2 separate regions of the Homo sapiens genome follow, and region 1 is linked to region 2. The links are contacts of gene promoters, found by promoter capture Hi-C in human tissues and cell types (Jung and others, 2019). All regions are on one chromosome and are shown on one strand. The core of a region is centred on a gene start or on the middle of the fragment in contact, and the rest is flanking DNA. Distances in the headings are between cores, read along the strand shown. Region 1 has its middle 4.0 kb from the start of LINC03018. Region 2 holds the start of UBXN2B (UBX domain protein 2B).

What was found. The method cuts DNA at HindIII sites, captures the fragments that hold promoters and counts their contacts. A contact is called where the count stands out against the background at its distance.
Region 1: a contact is called between a fragment that was not itself captured here and the fragment with the promoter of UBXN2B in region 2, in 1 of the 25 tissues and cell types used here (dorsolateral prefrontal cortex).

What each region holds. Positions count from the first base shown.
Region 1 is chr8:57,739,277-57,745,079 of GRCh38, forward strand. No RefSeq gene overlaps it. Among named protein-coding and RNA genes, the nearest start is that of LINC03018, 4.0 kb to the right of the region's middle. The HindIII fragment of the contact is 8,204 bases long and covers 1-5,803 here.
Region 2 is chr8:58,406,662-58,413,067 of GRCh38, forward strand. UBXN2B (UBX domain protein 2B) reads left to right here and starts at 4,700. Exons shown (of 8, transcript NM_001077619.2): 1 at 4,700-4,808. The coding sequence starts at 4,725. RefSeq lists enhancers at 4,696-4,755, 4,766-4,815, 5,096-5,145. The HindIII fragment of the contact is 13,427 bases long and covers 814-6,406 here.

The DNA of each region.
Region 1 (5,803 bases), core at 1,957-4,456, 670 kb before region 2:
CTTCTTGATGGTCTGTTTTTTCAGTGGGAGATGCTTTTCCTGGCTGCATCTCATTGGCCAGCTTGGCTCCCAGCAATGAGATTTTTATTTCCATTTATTTTTAAATTCAGCATTGAAATCAAGGTCATATAAATTTCACAATTTCCTTCATAATAAATTCATGTTTGTTTTTACATGTATATTCCTCCAAAGAGCAAAAAAGCAAACTTCCTCATGCTCTTGACACCTGCTGAGCTGTGCCATGCCTCCCCCCACTGGCCGTTTTGCCTTCTCTCATATCCTCTTAAGCTTGCGTTTTCTCCCATGGAGAAGCAGAGATCCAGGTAGCAGATCTTCCAGTGTAGGAAGCTTTTAAAGAGCCATGCTCATGTTTATCAAGAATTTTCATTTAAGAATAACAAAAATTGTTACAGTAATGTAGAATGTTAACCTGAAAAATTACCTGACCTCAATCTGTGTTTGCTAGACTCACATTATTATAAAAATATGATTAGTTTATAGCTCTATAAAAATAATTCATTATACTCACCCAGTTTTCTGAGAATTTTAGGAGTCTGCTCATAAGTTAGACAGAGATTCATCTACTTAACTTGAATACTTAGAGATAATTATCTTTTAAAAGTTTAGCAAAGCAGAATAAAACCCAGTTTCAAAACATAAAAGTAGAAATAGTTGAACTTCCCTAAAGCATTATTAAGTATTGTTGGGGATAGATGGGAAGTATGAATCAATTTGAAAGCTTTTAATATTTAGACCAGATTATGGGGTCATTTTTAACCAACTAGAGGTTTAAAAAAGCACAAAATTTATTTATATAAAATAAAAAGTATGCAGTGCTTTGTTCAAAAGAATCTACATGTTGATTCATCACCATAGTCATTATATATGTAGATATATATGTAAAACATCTCCCTTTGAGAAAGCAGCACGTGAAACATAAATACAAACTTGTGAAATATTAAGAAAACTCTAGCTGCTGAGATATTATTTGCTATGGTAGCAATGAGAAACAAGTTATTTCTGAGGTAAAAATCTATGATACGTATGAAATTGAATTGATTCCTTTCATAATATACTGTATTTTGAATCAGAGTGATGGTTTATGTATATGTCTTTCATTTTACATGAAAGACAGTATAGATAGGAGACATAATGAGAATGGTGTTAATGGAATAAAGGAAAAGACAGGAAAGGTAAAGTGTGAGCCCTCATGTAGGACAGAGATTTTCAAACTTTGGCATGTAGTGAAATCAACAAATAGCTTGTTAGAACCCACATTGCCAGGCACCCCCACTCCAGCCACAAAGATTTTACTTCATTGGGTTTACTGATGCAACTCAACAGTTCGAACTCTTAATAGGTTCCCAGGTGGCACTGACGCTGTTGGTTTAGGGTTCACACTTTGAGAGACATTGATGTAGGAGGGTTTGAAATATTTCAGCAAAGTTGATACCAGGCTATCATGAAGCTTGGTGAAACAGATTCCTCTGCTTCTGTGGCTATAAAAATGCTCATTTAGGATTTTTCTAAATGAAAATATATAATTCCTAATAAACTAAAACTACCTTCACATTGTTTCTTTTTCAAACATGGTCTGATTCACATTGCTGTTTGCTATTTATTTTTACTCAAATAAGCCTTCCTACAGAACTCTGTCACTGCAAATAGTCTCAATTCGCCATTAGCTAACATTCCATCTGAGATGAATCAGAGCTAGAAGAATGATTATTTCACAATAAATGCCTTTGGGTCCAATTTTTATGTAACTTTATATACTTATACAGCAAATCCCCTCCTCATGTGTCAATGGTCTGAGTAGACCTCATGTCCAATCCAGAATTAATCCCAATTCTGGATTATTTTAGGGTAGCTCTATGCATTAATTGGCATAAACTTCCTTTCTCCTAAGCCAATCACTGTGGTAGGAAGAATGGAGTTACTGCTCTCTCTGAACTACATTACTGCTATGCAATAACATAGGCTTTGAAAGAATATTGGTGTACTGTCTCAGGCTGGCTTTCTCAGATGCTTGCCCAAGACAAAGATTTGTATGCACATGATTTATTAATTATCTCAACAAGACAGGAAAGAGAAAGAAGCTAGCCTTGTATAACTGCAGGCAACGATCCCAGGATTGCAGTGTCAGCATGAACCATGGGGGAAGCTCTGGAAGGAAAATGAGCTCTCAGGGTAATCCTGACCTGAGATAAGACAGCTGGGCTTTCCTGCTTCTCTGTCATCCTTCAGCCTGAGGCTCAGGCTGCCCCCAAAGGATGGAGGCTGAGCTCAGTCCCATAGAAACAGTAAGATCTAAGGAGGTATGTGCAGGACAACAGCGGTATTCACTACAGGGTGACAACCAGACTCTGCCACACCAAGATTAAGAGATTTTATTTTATCTAATATGTCAGCACATCCTGCCAAACATGTGCAAAGAGGGAAAAATGGGACAGAGAGAATGGATAGTTCCTGAATTTGAAAAATGCTGGACTAAATAAAGTTAAATCGAAGACATTCTGCAGGTCTTTTATGAGCCTTTACTATATTAATGGCTGTTGTGAGTCAAACCACAAAATTGTTTTTATAAGACTGTCTCTCGGGTGTATCTTCTGTGAGACAGACTTTGGAAAAGCTGCTGTGAGTAAGGGGTTGTCAAAGGTTTGTAGAGCAGCATAATCAGATCAGGATTTATGGCGTGAAGTAAAAAGGGATGGAGAAAAGGAGCACTAAGACAACAAGATCACTTTGCTTCTGCAAAAGAACAAATGAAATATAATTAAATCATGAAATAAGCAAGTTGTATAGAAAACAAAGGAGGAAATGAACTAGACTATCTAATAGTTAGAATTGTCATAACTATGAAGGCTGTGAGGCACTAAAGAAGTTGGAGATCCCAAGGTCATTGGCTCAAGTGACTCCACAGCTAGTGAGGCCTTTAATGATGATGGAGAATTGATGAGGAGGACAATTCGGGGAGGCAAGATTAAAGTTTGAAAACTACATGGAGATGTGTGGTAGACAACTAACACTAAAGGTGTGGATTTTGGATTTACCAGCTTTGGGCTGTGACTTAGTCGGCTTGGGCTGCCATAACCAAACACCACAGACTAAATGGCTTAAACAACATAAATTTATTTTCTTAAATTTCTGGAGGCTGGAAGTCCAAGATCAAGGTGTTAGCATCATCAGTTCCTGGTGAGACCCACCTCCTTGGCTTGCAAACAATCACCTGCTCACTTGTCCTCACATGACTTTTTTTGTGGAAAAAGACTCTTCCTCTTCTTGTAAGGACACTAGTCCTATCATGTTAAGACCCTCATCAATCACTTTTAACATGATCGATTACTCTTTCAGTATCTTATTTAACATTAATTTCTTCACTATCTCCAAATACAGTCACATTGAGAGAATGGCTTCAAAATATAATCTTTTGGGAGATAGGAGAAACAATTCAGGTCTTAACTGAAAATAAATTCAGTGCTAGTTGGAGCCTAAAGAACTAGGAAGTTGACTAGACTGAGAATTGACTGAGAATGGGACTCAGGGGGCCTCCAACCTTTGTAAGACAAGGGGGATAAAGGAGAGCCAGACCTATCAACTCTCAGAGCTAGCAGACTTGAGAAAACCATGTTCACTGCTCTGTACTTCTGTTGCTTCACCTGTAAAAAGGAGCTAATGATTGTTTTTGTTTATGGAGCTTTTATGAAAATAATATATGAGTTAGGGCCCAGTTGGGAGACAGAACACATGCAATGTTTACAACCACAAAGTGTAATATAAGGAATTATTAACAGAAGATTTGCTTATGAGGAGTTGCCTGTTGAGAATTAAAGAGAATACTAAGGAACCTAGGAGCCACAGATGGAAGGAGCAGGCATGATTTCCAGGGCTGACATGAAACACCCAGGGAAGATCTCCTCATGGCCATCGTAGCTGAACTCCAGATGGTGGAGAATGCATGGCCGTGACTCACTGATGGCTCAGAAATCACTCAGGTGTCTCACAGTTGGTAATTGCTGGAAGTCTCTCCTCTGGAGTGCTGGAGAGACTTTCCACAGAGGGATGTACATGCCTCAGAACCTGTTAGGTGCTGGGAGACGCTGTTGGCCATTGGGCACTGCTATTTCAGGCTGGCACAGAACTCTGCGTGGTTTGGTTTAGGATGGCTCTGAGCTAGCTGTCTGGGAAAAAGGTTGGGGCTGGCATACAATGAGTACTCGGTAAATGTTAGCTATTTGCTCCTACTATGGTTCCTACTGGTACTCCTGCTACTGTTGCAGAGTAGTTAAAAACTAGACCTTTACAGCCTGGCAAACCTGGGCTCACATCCCTTATATGCCATTTATTAGCTGCAGGATAGTGGACAAGTGACTTAATCACCTTAAGACTCAATTTCACCGTCTGTGAAATGGCATTAATAATAGTATTTATCTCCTGGGTTTGCTGAGAGCAGTAAATAGGAACATAAAGGTGAACTGCCTTATACAGTAGCAAGCAAGTAGTAATAGATTTCCTTAAGTGGCTTTTAAAATGTTTTAAATAAATATTAGTTCACTTTCTCTCCATAGAATGTTCTTGACATTAAGTATAAAACTGAAAGAAAGAATATGGTGAGACAGTAAATAAATAAGTTAAATGAATGAAAGCTAAGTGACTTTTAATATAGTGATTATTCCATCTTATCTGTGTGTTGAGTCTGAATCTACCAGATTAATTTTAACTGGATGCCTTCTTTATTGAGTGTACACCACAGAGAAGAATTCTAATTCAATTCAGAAGTTCTGAGACAGTAAATTCTCCAAGTGGCAGGTCAACAGCAAATGTATGGATCATTCTGCCCTTTCAAACTCTCACATCAATACTAGTACGTAAGACTCTGCAGTTCCATGTAGAATTGAAATTACCAAATCATGCAGAATAAACTAACAGGCATCTTCTGCATGAGTCAATTAAGACCTTAAATGAGAACATAGTATCTTCTTTCTAGCCTCAGTGATTACATTTTTAATTACCACATATTTTCAGGCACGTCATGGAATTTGACGACTGATAGATTTGGTAAATTCTTCCTGGCTGCTATGGCTGGGAATTAAATTCCAGTTCACATAATTGTGTTTGTTGTTGTTGGTCCATTATGGATATCTACTACAACTGATAAACTCTCTAATCTCAGCTCCACTTGGCACAATGTGGACAAGTCCAAAAAAGAGAGACTTGTTATTGTCAAAAGCAATGAGTTTAAGTGAAACCTGTGACTAGTCACAAAGACCATATCCTTTGAGAGAATAGTCAGAGACTTTCAACAGCAATGTTATATTAGTCTAGCTCAATTACCATTCTCTAGCTTAGTGACAGAAATAATAAATTTCAGAATCTCAAGATATTACTACCCCAGGACAGTAGTTCCTTGAATTCCTTATTCACTGTGCTTTGATTTCATTTTGTGTAGCTAGTGCTTATAAATAAGTGATTTCAATATGTGAGATTTCATCTGACCTATCCAAATATCTGGGGAAAAAAAATAAAAAGAAGTCCGTAAGATTCTGTTTGTTTCATAATTGCTGTGGTCTCCTCTTTGATATTTCAAGCAGATTATTTGCAAACAAGTAGAAATCTCCATGCTAAATAGTCATCCAAACAAGGTTTAAAGTCACTGGCAGGAACTCCATTGCAAAACAGTTCCTAAAAATAAAAAAAAAAAAAGCCCAGATAGAATAAAATAAGAAATTTTCACCATTATATATTGGTAGCATTAGGAAACATGGCAGAAAAATAATTTTTTAAAATTTTCTTGTAAGAACAA
Region 2 (6,406 bases), core at 3,450-5,949:
TAGCCTTCACTATCCTATCTGTCACTCTGAAACTAGTAAAATATGGATTTTCCTCACTAACTATGAAATTGGTAGTAACTTTTGGGACAGCATCTCCTGTTCCTTTAGTCCAGTGGATACTTTTTAGTCTTAATCTTTCTTGATTATCTGTAGTAAATGACATCATTGGTATGCCTGTTGAAACTGCCTCATCACCAGTTTTTCCAGTCTCTTGTGTTCCTCTCACCTCTCTATTACTCAGGGCTACATTGAAAGCTTTCCTTTTTCCACTGAGTTCTTCAATGTTGGTGTTTGTGAGTGTTCTTAATCCTCGAATCTTCTCACATTTCACACTGCTCCTGCGAAGCCTTGTCTACTCTATCATTTACATGCAGTCAACACCCAAATCTGTATGTCCAAACCAAAATTCTTGCCTAATCTTCTAATCTTTATACCCACATTTGCAATTGCTCCATGATGCATTTTCACCAGAGTGTTCCACATACATTTTGAACTCAAAATGTCCATAACAAACTTGTTTATTTCCTTTGAAATTTGTTTCCCCCTTTCAACTCAATAATTTACGGGTAGCACCATTTGCCAAATCACCTAGCCAAATCCCCAGATGTCATTTTTTATTCCTCTTTTTTTCATGTATTCCACATTGAAGACTCCAGCTCCTGTCGGTTCTGACGTTAATATTTCTACCAAGTATTGCTTCTTTCTGTTCTCACTGCCACTGATAAAAATTGAGTCCTAATTACTTCCCATTGTTGTAATAATCTATTTCCTAACTTTGACTCATCATACACATTGATGCATCTGTAATCTTTGTAAATCACAAATCCTTTAATGGCTCCCAGTTGCCTTAGAGCAGTGTCTCTCAAACATAGCTGCACAACAGAATCAGCTGAGCAAGGATTTTGTTCAATCAAGTTTATAAATGAATAATTTACATATAATAAAATGCATGCATTTTAAGTGTATACAGTGTGCTTTTAACAAACGTATTAATACATACCTGTGTAACTACCACCACAATCAAGTTATAAAACACTTCTGTCACCTCAAAAAGTTCCTACATGTCCTACAATTGGGGAACTGAATCCTTACTCCAAAAGACAGCCCCAAGCTACCACCAGCTTTTAGTCATTAAAGGTGTTGCCTGTTCTAAAATTTCATATAAATTAAATCAGACAATATTTACTCTTTCGCACCTGGCTTTTTTTACCCAAGATAATATCTTTGAGATTCATTCAAGACATGTGAATCCATAACTTCTTCCTTTTTACTATTGAGTAGTATTCCATTGTATGATTTATCAAAATTGTATCCATTCATTGGCTGATGGACATTTGGATTGTTTCCAGTTTACAGGCTATTACAGATAAAGCTTCTATGAACATTTGAGTTGAAATACTTTATAAATGTATACTTATATCCCTCTTGGGTCAATATTTAAGAGTAGAATTGCTGGTTCTTATGATAATGGAATATTTAACATTAGAAGAAACTGACAACCTCTTTTCCAAAGTGGCTGTACCATTCTAGGACCCACTAGCAGTGTATGAGAGTTCCATGCAGAAAGCCAAGGCAACAGCTACTCGGGAGGCTGAGGTGGGAGGATTGCTCTAACTAGACAGATTGAGGCTGCAGTGAGGCGTGATTGCACCACTGTACTCCAGCCTGGACAACAGAGAGAAACCCTATCTCAAAAAATAAATAAATAAAAATAAAGAGCCTGGGCAAATATAGTCACCTTGTTCGTTTTCCTTCTTTCAGATATCACAGACCTGTACTGCCTGTTGCTCAATGCCTTAAAACTGTTGTTTTTAGTTGTTAAGAGTGGGAGGACAAGTCCAACATCAGGTATACTGTCATGGCCAGCAGCAAAATCCACTTTGCGAACATCTTAAGAAATATGATGCCTGACTCCCACTCTATACCAATTATTAATAAATCTGAGTACCTGGAGACGAGAGAGAAGAGGTGATTCTAATGTACAAGAATGTTAGAGAATCACTGGCTCAGAGGATTCCATCCCCAACCTAAGGCAAGATCCTTCAGAATCTGTCTCAAGCCTCCATTCTACATCTGTCTCCTCCCCACCATTCCATAACCATCTTTTGTCATTTCTAAGTTGCAACCATATAGCAATTTGCTGACATGAATATAATATTTTAAATATCAGTGTCTTTGTAAATATCTTTGCCTTTACCAAGATTCTTTCTGGTCTAATACTTCTACTGGAAGTACTTTCCTTCAACACTCAGCTAAAATGTCTTTGGCTCTATGAGGCATTTCTTGTTAAAGAGCCCGAGATTTCTAGGGCAGAATCTGATGTTAAGAGAGTATCAGGAAAACAAGTGCAGTTTAGTATTTGGCACTGCCATTTACTACAGGGTGAAGTTAGTCTTCATCATCTGGTTTCCTCGGGTATAACAAGATAATCATAACTACCTGGTAGAGGGATAAATGAAATTACACAGGGAATGCACAGCTGGGGGAGAAAATTTTCTCCTTTACTCTCTCAGAGTCTCCAGCTGGGTCCAAGAATTAAACGGACACAAAACAGATTAACAGGGAAAAAGCATACAAATTTTATTTAATAAAACTTTACGTATAAGTGGGTGTCCTCACAGGAAAATAAACACCCGAAGAAGTGGCTAGGCCTAAGTGCTTATATACTAGGTTGAACAAAGAGAGGCAATCGTGGAAGAGTATCTAGGAAGATACTGGTTAGTTTAACAATATCTGTACAGATGTTTCTCGGCCTCAACTCCCCTTCTCTGGTGATGAGTATCTTTCCTCTTGGTATAGGGAGGGCATCTATCACATGGTAGTTTCTTTTCCTGCTTTCAGGAAGAAAAGGTCAGAGTGCTCTTCTTGCACCTGCTGTTTATCAAATGCTTTTTTTTGTTTTTTGTTTTTTGTTTTTAAGACGGAGTCTCTCTGTGACACCCAGGCTGAAGTGCAATGGTGCATCTCTGCTCACTGCAACCTCTGCTTCCCGGGTTCAAGCAATTCACCTGTCTCAGCCTCCCAAGTAGCTGGGACTACAGGCACGCGCCACCACGCCCAGCTAATTTTTGTATTTTTAGTAGAGACAGGATTTCACCACGTTGGCCAGGCTGGTCTGAAACTCCTGACCTCAAGTGATCCGTCTGCCTCGGCCTCCCAAAGAGTTGGGATTACAGGCGTCAGCCACGACGCCCAGCCTCAAATGCCTTTATACATCAAAACGATCAGTATGCCAAAGCTCGGGCGGCAAGCTGTCGACTCCAGCACCTAGCATGGTGCACACAGCAGATACCAACGGAGTATTTCCCCTCACATGGCTCACATTTCCTTTGTAACCCTCCCAAGCAAAGCTCTACTGCAAGCTGCATCTTACCCGTTTACATGTCTCTTTTCCCTACTAGACTGAGTTTCATAATGACTGGGACTATTTCTTTTTACCTTTGCATCCCTTGGGCATAAAAGTGCCTAGGAGGCCAGGCGCAGTGGCTCACGCCTGTAATCCCAGCACTTTGGGAGGCCGAGGTGGGCAGATCATGAGGTCAGGAGATCAAGACCATCCTGGCCAACATGGTGAAACCCCGTCTTTACTAAAAATACAAAAGTTAGCCGGGCATGGCGGCACGCACCTGTAGTCCAAGCTACTCGGGAGGCTGAGGCAGGAGAATTGCTTGAACCCGGGAGGTGGAGGCTGCAGTGAGCCGAGGTCGCGCCACTGCACTCCAGCTTGGGCGACAGAGCGAGGCTCCGTCTCAAAAACAAAAAGTGCCTAGGATAAGAAGACCAGAGTCTAAATCAATTTCAGTTGAATGACGAGGGCTTGATAGTCTCGAGATCTGCTTTTTTTCTTTTTTGAGACGGATCCTCCCTGTGTCGCCAGGCTGGAGTGCAGTGGCGCGATCTCGGCTCACTGCAACCTCCGACTCCCTGATTCAAGCGATTCTCCTGCCTCAGTCTCCCCAGTAGCTCGGACTACAGGCACGCTCCGCCACGCCCAGCTAATTTTTGTGTATATATATATATATATATGTGTATATATATGTATATATATGTGTATATATATATGTGTGTGTATATATGTGTATATATATATGTGTGTGTATATATATATATATATATATATATATATATATTTTTTTTTTTAGTAGAGAAGGGGTTTCACCATGTTGGCCAGGATGGTCTCGATCACCTCGTCCGCCTCGGCCTCCCAAAGTGCTGGGACTACAGGCGTGAGCCACAGGCCCGGCAGAGTTCTGCTTTTAGCAAATTATTCCAAGCACTTTTTACGGTGTTTTTCACTCTCAGTGCTAATTCACGCTGTGGTGACGATGTACCATCCAATCCTTGATAGGAAAGATCAGAGAATCTGACCAAGACTAGATGGAGAGGTTGCAATTTTTCATCAGATGAAAAATCCAGAGGATGTTTTCATTGTTGAGCTAAATGAATCTGCAAGTCTATGCTGCCCTCTAGGGCGGCCTACAGTGCCTTTAGGCGAGTAGCAGGAGCAACACAAAACTTAACAGAGGTTTCCCTGCGGAGAAACTCCCTTTAAGAAAAAAGGAGAAACCAAAAAGGTGGGCCAGCACCGGAAGCGGGGGCGCGGGTTCGGGTAGCGGGGACGCGCACGCACCTTGCGCGTCTTCGCCCCTCCTGCGGTTGCCAGGCAACCGGCCCCGGAAGTTGCGGCAGGTGCGTCCGCAGCGGGCGCCGCTAGCCAGCGGAAGATGGCGGAGGGCGGAGGCCCTGAGCCCGGCGAGCAGGAGAGGAGGTCTTCCGGGCCGCGGCCTCCGAGCGCGCGGGATTTGCAGGTGAGGCGAGGAGCCGGGGGAGGGAGCGCGGCGGTGGACGCGGGCTGGTGACGGCGCGGGCTGGTGCGAGTTGGAGGCCACCTCTGGCCTCGGCGGAGCCTTTCCCCGACCCCGTCTGGGGATAGAATCCGGCGCCCGGTCTCCCGATGTCGGGTCTTGACACTGTGGTGGTCGTGAACACAAGTGCCCAAGCCTCCAGCGCTGGTGCTTTGTCTCCCTTCCACCCCACGTATGATGTAAAAATAGCTATTCGTTTAGAATGACATTTTGCGGGGTCAGTTGGTCGGTTCACGGGTTGATGCTTCCTTCTTGAGACTTACTCCAGAAGAAAGGTTACTGTGGCCGCAGGGAAGTAGACAGTCACCTGAACAGTAATGATACGTGATTTGTTCTTTTTTGTCTTGGATGCTATTTCTGACTTGCTTACTTAAATATAAAAATGGTTCCATTTTATCAGGTAGGTTTTTCTTTTAAAGGGGTGAAGGAAAGCGATGCACTCTATGCCCATACAGCCTAGTTGTCTAAGCTGTGGTCTTTAAAACATTGCACTGAAGAAACTGGGAAATAAAATTTCGTAATGTTGTGTAGGACACTAGTATTAGTTAGCTAAATAGTAGCGCACCAAATCCCGTTTTATCAGATACTAACGCCACTTTTCTCATTTTAGGCGTTTTTGTGTCTCATTATAAGATTATTGATAAAAATTTGACAAGTAAATATCAGTAAGGAGATACTAAGGAGAATCTTGGTAGAACAGTTTTACTGTATTACTTTACAACCACACTTCATTCTAATGTGAACAAACCACCATCCATTGTAACATACTGCTGAGCTTTGCGAATGTGGAAATAAGGACATCAAATCCTTAGTCGGTGCTGAACTCTATTGATGGGTAGGTATGTAAGTGTAAAAGACAGTTCTACCTTTTGGAAGCCTACAGATTTCTTCGGAGAAATAGGGTATGAATACTTAGCATAACATTTTAAGATGGAGTATGATTGGGTGCCAAAATAAGCAGTGCATAAAGCGAAGAATTTGGAGGCTGGAGAGATCAGTGTAACATTAGGAGGTGAACTTAATGTAGAATAGTTCCAGCTCCCATAGTTGGTTCAGTAGTAGTAAACAGTATCAAGGGATAGGAAGCTATTGTGTACCTCATCTTTCCTATTATAAACCCACATCACTAAGAGGCAGCATGGAGTTAGTAGTCCCACCAATTTTGGTTTGCCTCTTAGTCCTGCTACTTAGTAGTTTTGTGAACTTAGGAGAAATGTCTTAACCTGTCTGATCCTGTGTCTTCATTTGTAAACTGAGGAAGGTCAGGGTGCTGGTGGTGGTGTAAGGATTAAATAATGTTATAAAGGGCCTATGCAAAATTCCTACATTATCCTGGCTCAGTTGTTGCTGGGCAAATATTTGATTCCTTTTTCCTCAGGAGAAAGATGCTATAACTTTCCCTGGCTAGTCAATTCTAATATCATTAAAGTTAATAGAGTGTGTAACTTAATGTCCTTTCCCTAATTTAAATCCATTTCTTCTTTTTATGTGAAAAGTGAGAACAGCTTGCTTAATGACCACCTGATTCTTGGCAAATTGTT